Regions from separate parts of the Homo sapiens genome. Here regions 1 and 2 are each linked to region 3. The links are contacts of gene promoters, found by promoter capture Hi-C in blood cells and fetal thymus (Javierre and others, 2016). All regions are on one chromosome and are shown on one strand. Each heading gives the region's core, a stretch centred on a gene start or on the middle of the fragment in contact. The rest is flanking DNA. Distances are from core to core; before and after follow the strand shown. Region 1 holds the start of ARSB (arylsulfatase B). Region 2 overlaps RASGRF2 (Ras protein specific guanine nucleotide releasing factor 2). Region 3 holds the start of MTX3 (metaxin 3).

Region 1 (4,501 bases), core at 487-2,986, 1.0 Mb after region 3:
ACAGTTCTCTCAAAAGTTATTCTTTGAATTTAATGCTAAAATTTTCACTTTTTTCTGCTAAATTTCATTGATTCCACTAGAGATTAAAGTGCATACAACATAAACTAATCTACTTCATGCAAAGAAAAAAAGTGTATGTAAGAGGCAAACATTTCATGTGTTAAAGGATTCTTGGGGAAAAAAAGGTAAAATCATGACCCTCATACAAATATAAAAGTGAATACATGATTTTATTTAACTCATTAATAAGGAAATTGGTAAGGTGTTAAAACCAATTCAAAGGACAATCCAAAGAACAGATCAGGAATACTAAAATAAATATGCAAGCGGAGGTGAAACTGTTTTCCTTGGTAGTGGTGGAGGGGAAGGATTGCTACTCCGCTGGATAAAGTTCATTTGTGTATATATAAATAAGAATTATTTTCCATTGTTATTTATCTATAACTTATAAAGTTGTAAACAACTTCCACGGAATCAGACTCAACCTGGAAGGGTATGGTCTCTAGGCAATGCAAAAATTTTCCCCTACACCTGTTAACAACTATAATATCTCCAGACAGAGTAGACAGAAAGTCTGGATGGCAACGGGAATCTACTGGTCATACGGCTAACTTCCTAATTCAATAAGCACGTGACTAAAGGATTTTTTCCTTCCACTCAGATATTTCAGGCTAACTAGATACTGTGTGCTTCTTAGTGTCACTGCTTAGTGGGGGAGCCAGCTCTGAGTGGGGTCATATCCGGACAAGCGAATGAGCTATTTATTCAATGACCACGCAACACTCCAAATCCTCCCAGGGCAACTTGAAAGTAACCGCACCTTCCAAAGGGCACCGTGCAATCAGACTGTGTGTTTGGCCTCCTGTTTGCTAGTGGGGAGGAAGCGGCTTCATGGGTGTACACTACGCATAAATGAATGTGAAAGGCTATTTAGACCTCTGCCTTTTCACCGTCCTCCCACCTGCCACAGGCTGGGCTCTTGTGCTAGAAATGACTTGCTAGCTAGACATCATGGTTCAGGATCTGAGTCAGAGGTTTAACCATTTATAAGCTTTTTTCTTATGAAAAATTGGCACTAATTATAATGTCTAACTGTCAGAGTTGTTGCAGGCTTTACAGGAGACGCGGGCTGTGAAGATGCTTTGTAAATTGTGAAGCGTTATTAAAGAACACATCTTTTTTTTTTAGGAAACCACAGTGCAAATTTAATTGCCGGGGAAGATAACGGGCCTTGGTGCCCTCCAAGCGTCAGCTGAGTTTCCAAGAAGCCGGGCAGCGGGCGCCCGCGGGTTCGTCTCTGGCTCCTCCTCCGCCACAGCAGCCGGGGGCCCGGGTCGGAGGCGGCGGGGGCCGAGCGCCCGGCCTCGCAAGCCCACGGCCCGCTGGGGGTGCCGTCCCGCGCCGGGGCGGAGCAGGCCCCGGCAGCCCAGTTCCTCATTCTATCAGCGGTACAAGGGGCTGGTGGCGCCACAGGCGCTGGGACCGCGGGCGGACAAGGATGGGTCCGCGCGGCGCGGCGAGCTTGCCCCGAGGCCCCGGACCTCGGCGGCTGCTCCTCCCCGTCGTCCTCCCGCTGCTGCTGCTGCTGTTGTTGGCGCCGCCGGGCTCGGGCGCCGGGGCCAGCCGGCCGCCCCACCTGGTCTTCTTGCTGGCAGACGACCTAGGCTGGAACGACGTCGGCTTCCACGGCTCCCGCATCCGCACGCCGCACCTGGACGCGCTGGCGGCCGGCGGGGTGCTCCTGGACAACTACTACACGCAGCCGCTGTGCACGCCGTCGCGGAGCCAGCTGCTCACTGGCCGCTACCAGGTACGCGGCGCCCCCGCCGCCCGCGCCGCCCCCGCCCCGCCTTTCGCCGGCGCCCTGCCGCTCCTACCCGGCCCTTGAGGCCGCGGGCGCTGGCAGGCGGGGCTCGGACCGCCGACCCAGTTATGGGTCCCGGCGGCTTCTCGCCCCAACCTCGCTCTTCCAGGCCGGCAGCCCGCCGCGGCCTCTGCGCATGCCCGGCTCTGGCGCCCCGCGGACCCGCGCCCCGGCCGCCGGGTTGGGCGGGTGGCTTTGTCTTTCGTTTTCTGAAGCTCCGGGCGAAGGGGTTTATGGGAATGCCGGGTGCTGGGCGCCGCGGCCGGCAGGCGGAGCGGTCCTGAGGTGGGAGGCTGGGGAGGGCGTGGGCTGGGAGCAAAGACGAGGGGAGAGGTAAAATGAAGGGGTGCTCGCCGTGGGTGCGACCCTGGCCCGTGGGAACCCAGCGGTGATAGGTTAGGAGTGTCCCACCAAAGATTATTTTTTTCCAGGTTCTCAACACCCCTGGAATGAAACCTGATGCTAGGTTGATTTTTCTTAGGCTGCTGACATTCCTTTCACATGTAACCTTGTATTGAACTCTTCTGAGCATCTTCATTATCGCTTTAAAAGCTTCCCTTTAGGAACGGCTCCACAGTTAACGAAGGAAATATAAATGTAGAGCGTGCATAGATGTTAGATGGCTAAGAATATCAAGAACATTTGCATAGCACTTTGTTGTTTTTAAAGTGAATTATTGAAACAGTGCATGAGGTAGTTGTTTTTACCCCGTTTTACAGACGAGGCAGGAAGCCTGTAAAGGCTCGTTGGCATAAGAATCGCACAGCTAGAAAGTGGTCAAGGCAGTGTCCGTTGTGCTTTTCCTGCATCCACTGGTCGTCCCGGGCTTATGAAATTGGCCTTTTTTCCCCTCAATCTGAATACGATTGTCATATTTCTAAGACCCTGAAGTTATTATGACCATATTAAATACAGTAAATGGGAACTGTTGGATACCACCTGCATGCCTTCACAGAGTACATATGCTGTTTACTCAACAAAAATATTTTGAGCTTACTGTGCTACTGACAGGGGATATATATTTGAATGTTGCCCTCCCAAGTGTGTGTTCGCATAACCTGTCAGATCAACCCTAGCCTCACGTGGTCCTAAGATCAAGAGAAGGGAGGGCTTACTTGTGATAAAGATATGCGCAGTGGTCTGAAGGCTTTTATAAAGAGGAAAGATTGGGTGTTGCTAAGGGTGAGAAATAGCTGTAGCCAAGGTTAGAAATGGGAGTAAAGGATGCTTCCCTTCACCATCCACCTTAGTACTTTTGGCGGTTCTGACCTTGGCTGCTACGTGTAATTAGGAATCCCCTACATTGTGTAAATCTCACCCTGGACACTTTGTGGGAGTAAAGGGATGTGCCAGTAAAGAAGAAGAAGAAGGGAAAGGTGAGGTTTGCCCAAAGGGTTCTGCATTTGCTTTGAAGTAAGAGAACTGAACTCAGATTGCAAAAGAATGGAAGGGCCATTCATTTCTCCAACTTCCTCCCTTCCAACAGAGTTGGACAGGAAAGCAAATACCAACTTCAGAAACCCATTCCTGGGCCGGGAACGGTGGCTCACGCCTGTAATCCCAGCACTTTGGAGGCTGAGGCAGGTGGATCACCTGAGGTCAGGAGTTCGAGACCAGCCTGACCAACACGGCGAAACCCCGTCTCTACTAAAACTACAAAAATTAGCCGAGTGTGGTGGCATGCGTCTATAGTCCTAGCTACTCGGGAGACTGAGTCAGGAGAATCGCTTGAACTCGGGAGGCAGAGGTTGCAGTGAGCCGAGATCGCACCACTGCACTCCAGCCTGGGCGACAGAGCAAGACTCCATCTCAAAACAAAATAAAATAAAAAACCCATTCCCGTAATCAGTTGCTTTTGTCCCCTAACATCCTCCCCCACCAGTCACCAAAATTATGTCTTGGAGAACAAACTTTAGTATTTAGAGTACCCCATGGTTATGAAGTAAAGGATGAGTAGAGAAGCTGGGCACTCTGAAAGGTTTAGAGGCCTCTCAGTGTAGCTGATTCTAAAGCAGCCTTGCTTCCCCAAACATTTTTTTTCCTCCAGTTTTCTCACCCACTTTATTCTCTTAGAGTTCATGAGACCCAAGTAGATGTTACCCAGGGTGAGCAAGTGTCCACTTTTAATGAAGTAGAAATTTCAGGGAAGGCTCAGGAGTCTCCGTCAGATACTATATGCTGGTATTGTTCTGAGCACTTACAAGTGTTAACTCATTTGATTCTCACAACAACTCTATCATCTCTGTTCTGTAACAAGGAAACTGATGCTGGAAGAGGTTAAGAAACTTGCCCAAGGTTACAGGGCTAGTATATGTTGGACCAGGATTTGACCCAGGGCACGTGGCCCTAGGGTTGATGCCTATAACCACTAAGCCATATTGCCTACTCAAAATTATTAAAAATAACATCCCAAGGACTGCTTCATACATACTAAATAATCCCTGTATTACTTTTGGACATTTGGGTCATTCCTAAATATCTCAAGGTAAAGAATCAACCCATCATATTTCTGAGTTAGGAATTGCCTATATTCCATGTAAAATAAAAATAGATTTTATTTCTGAGTCATTTGTTATGCATAATTTTAGACAATAAAATGAAGGAATTTTTTGACTGTCTCAAAATGAGTTACTTGAA
Region 2 (4,888 bases), core at 1,159-3,658, 1.0 Mb before region 3:
TTTTCGTCCGTGAAAATAATACACATATATAAATACGGAAAATACAGAGAGGCAAAATTAGAGAGGAAAATTCATTCATAATCCTACCATCATCCAAAGACAACCACTGTTAAATCTTGATGTATAGCTCTCAAATCTATTTTCTTTTTCTTTTTTTTTTTTTGAGATGAAATCTCACTCTGTCACTCAGGCTGGAGTACAGTGGCACGATCTCAGCTCACTGCAACCTACCTCCAGGATTCAAGCAATTCTCCTGCCTCAGCTTCCCGAGTAGCTGGAACTACAGGCACCCAACCCCATGCCCGGCTAATTTTTGCATTTTCATAGAAACGAGGTTTCACCATATTGGCCAGGCTGCTCTCGAACTCCTGACCTTGTGATCCGCCCGCCTCTGCCTCCCAAAGTGCTGGGATTACAGGTGTGAGCCACCGCACCCGGCCTCTCCAATCTATTTTCTAAAACCATTTTAATACAGTCATGCTCATGCTGCATATGCAATGCTATTCCAGCATAGTTTTCAGGTCACATGATAACTTAAGAATTTTTCCATATTACTTAAAACTGTAGTAAACGTTTATAAAGTGTACATAATGTTACACAGAAATGATATACTACTTAAATATTTACTTAAATTACATTTGCCTATTTTAACATTTGGAAGGTTTTTAATTATTCCTTATAAATCTTGGTATATACAATTTTTTATTTGACTTTTGGGTTACTCCATTGGTGGAGATTCTCAAGAACAGATGAAAGACATGAATAACTTGGTTTATGGAAGTTTGTTTTTAGACTTGCTTTAGGGATATTTGCTCCTCATGTTTGCCAAGTCTGATGTGATGCTCCATCTGACAGACATGATAATAAGCTACTGAACAACACTCACATCACAATTTTAGCGACTGAGTGGCCCCATATGTGATGCTATATCTGGACATTCTAGGCAGTTGATGGCTCCTACCCTCTAGAAGCTTACATCTGCTCTCAGGGTATAAGGGAAGTTCACTAACCTGGGCAGTATATGATGATATTCATTAACTGCCTATCTAGGCATGAAAATGGTTACATATCCACTCAGTGCTTAATATATGGCAGGCATTGTTCTGAGATCCATCCTGCATTTTCTCATCGAGTTCTCGTCATGAGCCCATAATTTATTCCCCTTTTACAGATGAGGAAACAGGCTGAAAGAGGCAGGACAATCACCCACAACCCATCAGGGCATGTGCTCTCAGCTGCAGGCCCAGGGGTAGTAGTGGACTCCCACTGGTCTGCCACACTCTGTTGTGAGTCTCTGTTGTGAAAGCTATCTATGTGGCAAAGCCAACCAGATCATGAGTCCAAAACCCAGGACTCTGACTTGAAGTTCTACTTGCTGAGACAATCAACCACAAAAGGATGGATCACACGGAAAGGAAGAAATAGATGGGCTGGAGCCTGTATAGATAAGAAGTATGTCCAGAAAATAAATTTCCAAAAAATCATCAAGTCTACAAAATTCTATTCTGCCCTTGAATTTTATAATGGTTCTAGATGCCACCCTAGCCATTTCTGTTCTCATTTCTAATATTAAATCAGCAGCCTAAGAGACAGGAGGTGCTACAAAAGGGAGAGGAAGGAGGGAGGGAAGAAGAGAAGGAAGAGGGGAGGAATCCATTTTATCCATTATTTTATCAACCATCTTATTTTTGAAAGTGTCATGCTGGTATGTATTTTATAGACACACATATACTGATCTTAAGAAGATTACAGTTTAGCTGAAAAGCTAAATTAGGCACTCATAAAGCAATTAAATAACATTATAAGATTAAGTAACAGTGCAAGATGTGTCAAAGTGCTAAAATAAGCTGTATGAAAACTGAAACCAGCCAGGCACGGTGGCTCATGCCTGTAATCCCAGCACTTTGGGAGGCTGAAGCAGGTGGATCACTGGAGGTCACGAGTTTGAGACCAGCCTGACCAACAGGGTGAAACCTCGTCTCTATTAAAAATACAAAAATTAGCCGGGCGTGGTGACACATGCCTGTAATCCCAGCTACTGGGGAGGCTGAGGCAGGAGAATTGCTTGAACCCGGGAGGAGGAGGTTGCAGTGAGCCGAGATTGTGCCACTGCACTCCAGCCTGGGCGAAGAAGCGAGACTCTGTCTCAAAAAAAAAAAAAAAAAAAAAAAAAAAAAGGAAAGAAAGAAAGAAAAAGAAAACTGAAACCATCATCATCCACTTTTTCCAATTACTACACATTTGAGATAGCTGGTTCTGTAAATCAGACGAGACAGTGCAATTTTGGCCTATCAGAAAGTGTTTACCATAGATGAAGACAATAAATACTATTGCTGGATGGTCCTGGGAAGCTGAGGGTATTGGAACCCTTCCATAACTGCCATGGCCAAGGGATGAGGATGCTTCCATTGCTTTTCCTGTTCACGTCTCTCTCTTCAGTTCACCCCCTCCCAAATGAGAAGCTGCATCGGATCTGCTTGCTCAGCATTTTGCATTTACTAGGTGACTCCTCCATGGATGAGGTCACTCCTTTGAAGAACAATACATGGTTATCCTTCTGTCTCAGTTGCACCTGCGATTAGGTGAGCAAGTCAAGCAGTTATCGTGGAGGGGCAGCTGATCTGAATAGTTCACTTTCCTCGTCCTAAATCAGCCTTCAATATTTACCATAAATGCAAGGACCACCCTGAGAAAGTTGAGTTTGTTGGCGTGAATTTTTCTTAATGGAAAAAAGAAAGCGAGGGAGTATATGGCCAACTAACCCTCACCATGAAGGAAAAAATGACATCCCGGGGCAGCTGACAATAGGGCTCTCTAAACACTTGGTGCCAGTGTGGAGGTGTTCTGGCCTCAAGGCAGCTCCAGGGAGAGGGTCCCTGGGAAAGAATGAACCCCTTCCTCAGGGCAGAAGAGCCTGCTTCACTGCACAGAGTGGTCTCTCAGGAGCTAGAAAAGTTAATGAAGTTGCTGAGCTTGAAAACCAGAAAGTAGGCAAAAAGAAAAACAAGTTCAACCTTCCTCCAACACAGGAAATAATTTGAAACCACAATCAGAAACTTTTTGAGCATTATGAAAGTGTAGAGGCCAAGGGAAAACTCCTCCCCTTCACCTTCTGCAGGTTTCCTGAAAGCTACACCCCCTCCCGAATGAGAAGCCACATCTAACAAAAGGAAGGTTAACAGGAGAAGAGGCATATACACATTTATAAATGTGTACGGAGGCAGGCGGATCACACAGTGATTACTCCACCACGCAATGAGGTACAGATGGTTAATGGTTATATACCCTTCTGAGGAGAAAGGGAGATGGGGAAGTGAGGCTTATTTTAGGGGGTTAGTAAACCATTTTTAGGAGAATGCCATGGACTCGAGGAACATACAATGGCCTGGGACAATGTCTCGTGGGCCCGCAGAACAGACAATGGTTTGTGACAAGTCTATAAAAGTGTGTTGATGGACTTGGAATCTTTCTTTCTGAGACATGTGTTCAGTTAATGAAAACTCAGGAAAGTGACCAGAAGTAATTGTTTTCTTCTTCAGCAGGTCTGGACTTTAGGCAGATAAGGGAACTTCAGAGAACAATTTTATCCTGTGCTTTGGGGCAGACGGAGAAGTGGGGAAAGGGGGATCCGAGAGGTCTCAAGGCTCCTTCCTCGGTTCAGCATGTCAAAGCACCATAGTTCGGGGCATCAGCTTCTGAACCCCAGCAAAGGGAATAAGCATTTTGATGGCTTCTAAATCACCAAAACACAGGAGGAAGAAGTGGGTTAGCTGCTCTGGGGTATGGAACTATTAGATTCTGACACACTTACAGCCTTATCTCTGCCTACTACATATGAAGCTTTCTACTGACTATTCTAGAAGGTAACATACTTTCAGAAACACCTTTGCACTTTCAAAACTATCATGGCTTTACCAAAACCACTTAACTCAAAAGACTTTTCACTTTCAAAGGTCCTTCAACCAAAGTTAGAAGCATATTAAGTGAAATCAAGACCAGTCTGAAGGGCAATCAAAACAGGATCCCCATAGAAAACTGTGCATTGAGCATGACTACAGCCCAATAAACAACTAAACAACCTAAAGGGGCAAATTCGACAGGAAATACACCGAAATATTAAAGTAGATGTCCTTGGGTAATACAAATTTGAGTAAGGTTGGTTCTATAGCCATACAATTTTTAAAGATTTATTTTTATTAAAAACACAAAACTTAATTAAATAAATAAATATTAAAGTCCAAGTTGTTTGAAATATTTCCCTTCATATCTTGAAAGCCTTTCAATCTCACTCAGGAAAACGTTTGAACTTGGAACATTTGAACTTGGAAGCGACCTTAAAGATTGTCCGATAAAACTACTTCATTCTACAGCTGAGGAAACAGAGTGAACTTCCAAACACATGGCCAGTCAGGCGCTGACCTGGAACTCTAATCAGCAATTCCTACCTCTGACTTAATGCCCTCTCTATCACAGACAGAGCCCACCTCACCAAGGAATACTCCCCTTCAATCTTCCAGATAGAAAGGAAAAAAAGTACTGCAAAATATGTCTCTCCACTCTTCAGTATGTACCCAAAAGAAATAAAATATATGTCTACTCAAAAATGTCTACACGAATGTTCACAGCAGCACTATTCATAGAAGTCAAATAGCAGAAACTACCCAAAAGTCCATCAGCTGAGGAATGGATAAACAAAATGTGGTATATCCATACAATGGGATTTTTTTTCTCCATGAAAAGGAGTGAAATACAAATATGCTACAATATGAATAAATCTTAAAAACACTGACTGATATGGTTTGGCTGTGCCCCCCACCCAAATCGTATCTTGAATTGCAGTTCCCATAATCCCCATGTGTTGTGGGTAGAACCTGGTGGGAGGTAATGG
Region 3 (4,452 bases), core at 696-3,195:
ATTCAACACTAAGGGAAGAGATTTAATTTCTCTTTAATGCAAATGAAATCACTGTATGTAGTAGCAGCAGTACGGAAGAAGGCCAAACTGAGTAACTGTGTTATGTGTCCACTAAGAATGTTCATTCACTCCTCTCAGTCCTGCTACAAACAAGGCTCAGGAAATCCACATTCTTTCTGTATGATTGTTTTAAATGCCTGAATGTAGTATATGGACCCTCAGCTTTATGGCTTAGGATTTTCTTTCCCCCTGCCTTGCCTTTGTCAGTCTATGGTTTGACATTTCTAACCCTCAAAACAGGGAGGTTCCATTACAATCTGAAAGTTGAATTACTTTACTTTCTTTATACTGAAGACTCAACAGATAGTCTCCACTGATCACACAGAGGATGCACTGTCCCTCCTTTGTGTTTCTGTAGTATTTTGCTTATATTTCTAACCCTACTCGTGATTATCTGACTTGTTACACCTTGGTGTGTGTATATCTCCTTTGTGCACTGTAAACTCCCGAGGACAGAATTCATGTTTTATATATTTCTGTATTGTTCCAGAACCTTATGATGTCTAAGACATAGGAGCTGCTCAATAAATGTTTCGACAGTTTTAATGGTACATATGTTATGCATTTTCCAATTATACAGTTATTATTAATGAATTCTCATTTCTGACATATCTCTTTTTCATTTCTTAGAACTCTTGGTTTTGAAACATGTAAAAAAGACTTTAGCAGGCTGGCACTGTAATTTGAATGATTATGTAAACAGTAAGGGAGTGCCTAGCAAATATTTGTTGAATAGTAATTTTACGAAAAGTTGCAGAGGTTTCTTTTGAGTTTTAGTTAAGAAGATCCGACCATCTCAGTGGAATAGAGGAAAGAACTCAGAGGCATGACTGCGAGGGTGTCCCAGAAAGACTACTGTGCCTTCTAGAAAAAAGACCCAGCACCCAAGTTCTAACTCTGAGACCCAGTCATATGTTTGGATCATAGCATTTCCAAGACCAAAATTTCCTCTTTAATAGTTTTTCTGAGAAACTGTCAGGTTTAACGTCAAGAAACATTTAGTCTGTGCTCATTAGGCCCACAGACATGACGAGCTACATGATTTGAGGGGCCCAGTCCAAAATAAAAATGCAGAGCCCCTTGTTCAAAACTTAAGAATTTCAAGACAGTGACGGAAGAGCATCAGCCAAATGAGGAGCCTTTTTAAGCACAGAGCCTTGTGTGGCTGCACAGGTCCCAAACCTATGAAGCTAGCCCTCTTCTGTGAAAGGCAAAAGGTCTGTAGCTAGGGAGAGAAGCTACAATTCAAATATGCACAAGGGGCTACAAGAACCCAGAGCTCCTAACTTTGTAAAAACATCACAGGGAAGGTGAGTTAAGCTCATTTTTGAGGGAGCAGCTGCATAGGGAAGAAAGATATTCCAGATTGAAGGACCAGCACTGAAGGTGGGCACAATTTACCTGACGTTCAGAAATACTGTAACTTTTAAGCAGGGTTGTGCCAGTGAACATGAGGGTGAGAACAGGTTGAGGCTGGAAAGGCAGGCAGAGGCCACATACATGGGAGAAGGGGTTGAACAATTACTGAGTGCCTCCTGTGTGCCAAGTTCTTTCTCTCCGACATTGTAAATACCACAATCTTGTAAATACTGGGTCATCCCTGTTTTACAAACAGGTTAATTTAGGCATCACACAGATTTAATGTTCAAAGGGTTTGGAACACTCTAGGGATCTAATAAATATTAATATTTGAAGAATTACTGGTGGGTCTGACTTAAGGCACACAACTCTTACCCTTTAGGCCAAGCTGCTCCTAAGAGTTCTTCTTAATCCCTCCAGTCGTTGTTTCTCTCATCTCTCAAGAGCCCCCAAATTACCCTTCCCTCCCTTAGCCACGCCCCCGCGTTTCACGTGCCGGAAATTAGGAGGAAAAGTACTTCCGGGATAGTAAAGGTCGGCCCGCGCAAGATGGCGGCCCCCTTGGAACTCAGTTGCTGGGGAGGCGGCTGGGGACTCCCATCGGTTCACAGCGAGTCCCTGGTGGTGATGGTGAGGCCGCCTCGCGGGCCAGGGCGCAGGAGGAAGGGGCGGGGCTGGAGGCGCCAGGCTGACTTGCCCCAGTTTCCCGCTGCGCTGCGGGGTCCAGGAGGGCCGAGCCGCTGCACGCTGCATTGCCCTGGGCTCCCTCCCACCGACGAGTCCCAACCTGGCCGATACCCCCGCCGAAGGCCGGCGGCGACATCAAGGCTTCTCCGCTTGGCTCCGAGTTTTGTCCGCCTCACAAAGCTGTCTGGGCGGTGGAGTGAAACCCCGAAGCAAGGGGCGCGCCCTCCCTACTCTGCATCCCCAGGACCTTTTGGGGAGCAAAGTCCTCGAAAGCCGGGTGGCTGGCGCCCGCGTCCCTACTTGAGATCACGGGGAGGGATGCGGCCTCAGTATCAGTCGCCTTCTGCCTTTGGGGGATGGGGCTGTGAAGTAAAGCTGCTCTGCAGCTTTGCATTACGCACTTGGTCTAAAATGTTTGATTGCAAACTCTGTTTCAGGCTTATGCCAAATTTTCTGGTGCACCCTTGAAAGTCAATGTGATAGATAACACCTGGAGAGGTTCAAGAGGTATAGTGTAAACCTTTACACTCCCCTTTCTGCACTCTTTTTTTTCTTCTTCCATTTAAAGCTGTGAGGTATATAGCTATAATATTGAGGATTTAGTTTCTTACCGTGACCTTGGCTCTGTGTTGTTTATGGTTTGATCATTCTGAGTAATACCTCAAAGTGCAAGCGAAATCACTGGAAATTATGAGAAACGAAAATGTTCTTTAGAACCGCTCTTTGTGAAACAGCAAAAAAACCAAGACAAGCTTACTCATTTTTTCCCCTCTAAATGTGCAACTGCTATAGTTTTTAGGATATTGGAATCTCTCAGAGGAAATCACACTGTGTCCTTGTATGTAAACTGTTTTTTGATTATAGGCGATGTACCAATTTTGACAACTGAAGACGACATGGTTTCTCAGCCAGCAAAAATACTAAACTTTTTAAGAAAACAGGTGGGTGGTTCACTTTGAAGAAGTAGATTGGTAGATTGTTGATCCCTGCATGTTGGGCTTTATTTTATTTATTTATTTTTTTTTGCCAACTCATTAGACAATTGGAGATACCTGGGACAAGATGTAAAAATAGATTTGAGAATCACTGCTCTAAAGCATGAGTTCTGTGATTTGAAAGTCATATGAAGAGGTAGTCAGTTTATATTTTAATAAACTTTGCTTGAATTTTATTGAAATTTGTATGTAAGTAGATTTAATTAGCCATTTTCACTATTAAACTTATTGATAGGATTGTGTATTTTGTCACATAGTTGGTACACATTTTGTGCTGGGCATGACACCTGAGCTCTCACCAACTAGCAACTATATTATTTTTAAAAAGCTCTTAATAGCAGTTTTATGGAATAATGTATCTAAATGTTTTAACAGTAGAGAATTATGTATCCAAAATGTTTAAACATGTAAAGATTTATATGAATGGATAAGTTATTTGTTTTGCCAATACTGTACTTAAAAAAATTGTGTCAATAACATTTTGAACTTTTATAAATTGGAAGGTTTTTTCTTTTGTCTTGGGGAGAAACACAGCCAATTGGAACTGTTTCCTTCTTGTTAAAAATAATAGTTGCTTTGTTTGTACTACATGCCATGCACTGAACTAGGTCATTAACAAGCATGAAAATAATAGTAGTTAATATTGTAACATTTATTGACCATATTGTGTATGTGATGCTGTGCTAAGAACTTTATGTGCATTAAGCAATAGGTTTCACTGGATTTGTATTTCTCTTTCTCCCATTTTAATACCACGTTTGCTATTTGTAAGGAAAAATATGAATCCTGATTTGATTAGTTTTACTGTCTTTGGGCTGCTCTTTGACTTCTGAGTTTCTTTGGTTTATTTTTTTTTAATAGAAATATAATGCTGATTATGAACTCTCAGCAAAACAAGGGGCAGATACATTGGCTTATATTGCTCTCCTCGAAGAGAAGCTTCTCCCTGCAGTGGTGAGTGTTCTTAAATATTACAGTATTTTAGTAGCCTAGTTGCAAATGTACATAGTCTGTTTAGAAAAAAACCAATGAGAAAAGTCTTAAGAGAAAATTTTACTTATATGTTAATCTTAATTCCTTCATATTACTGTGAAACTGGATTCTGTTAGGCATTCAACTAGTATGTGAAACAACAAAGTAAAATAAAATGTCATGTTGGAAATTCTTTGTGGGAGATGGATCTTTTTGCTCCATGTATAGAATTGGGTGTAATTCATTCATTCAACAAATGTTTATTGAACACCTGCTATGTGTCAGGCCTTGTTCTGGGTGTTTGGAAGATAGCAGTCAACAAAACTCACACATTTAAAATAATCTTGTTTTATCCTGAGTCATTCTAACTGGAAAATTT

The links. The method cuts DNA at HindIII sites, captures the fragments that hold promoters and counts their contacts. A CHiCAGO score of 5 or more calls a contact.
Region 1: a fragment that was not itself captured here is called in contact with the fragment with the promoter of MTX3 in region 3 in 1 of 17 cell types (activated CD4 T cells); the score reaches 6.8 in activated CD4 T cells.
Region 2: a fragment that was not itself captured here is called in contact with the fragment with the promoter of MTX3 in region 3 in 1 of 17 cell types (activated CD4 T cells); the score reaches 7.7 in activated CD4 T cells.

Annotation. Positions count from the first base shown.
Region 1 is chr5:78,982,246-78,986,746 of GRCh38, reverse strand. ARSB (arylsulfatase B) reads left to right here and starts at 1,437. Exons shown (of 8, transcript NM_000046.5): 1 at 1,437-1,810. The coding sequence starts at 1,499. RefSeq lists a silencer at 1,255-2,114. The HindIII fragment of the contact is 1,365 bases long and covers 1,054-2,418 here.
Region 2 is chr5:81,005,429-81,010,316 of GRCh38, reverse strand. The region is part of intron 1 of RASGRF2 (Ras protein specific guanine nucleotide releasing factor 2); the gene reads right to left. Among named protein-coding and RNA genes, the nearest start is that of RASGRF2-AS1, 47 kb to the right of the region's middle. The HindIII fragment of the contact is 2,869 bases long and covers 974-3,842 here.
Region 3 is chr5:79,988,755-79,993,206 of GRCh38, reverse strand. It overlaps MTX3 (metaxin 3), which reads left to right and starts at 1,945. Exons shown (of 9, transcript NM_001363818.2): 1 at 1,945-2,049; 2 at 2,544-2,613; 3 at 2,971-3,047; 4 at 3,963-4,055. The coding sequence starts at 1,969. It also overlaps a transcript of THBS4 not described here. RefSeq lists an enhancer at 2,278-2,447. The HindIII fragment of the contact is 4,262 bases long and covers 1-2,860 here.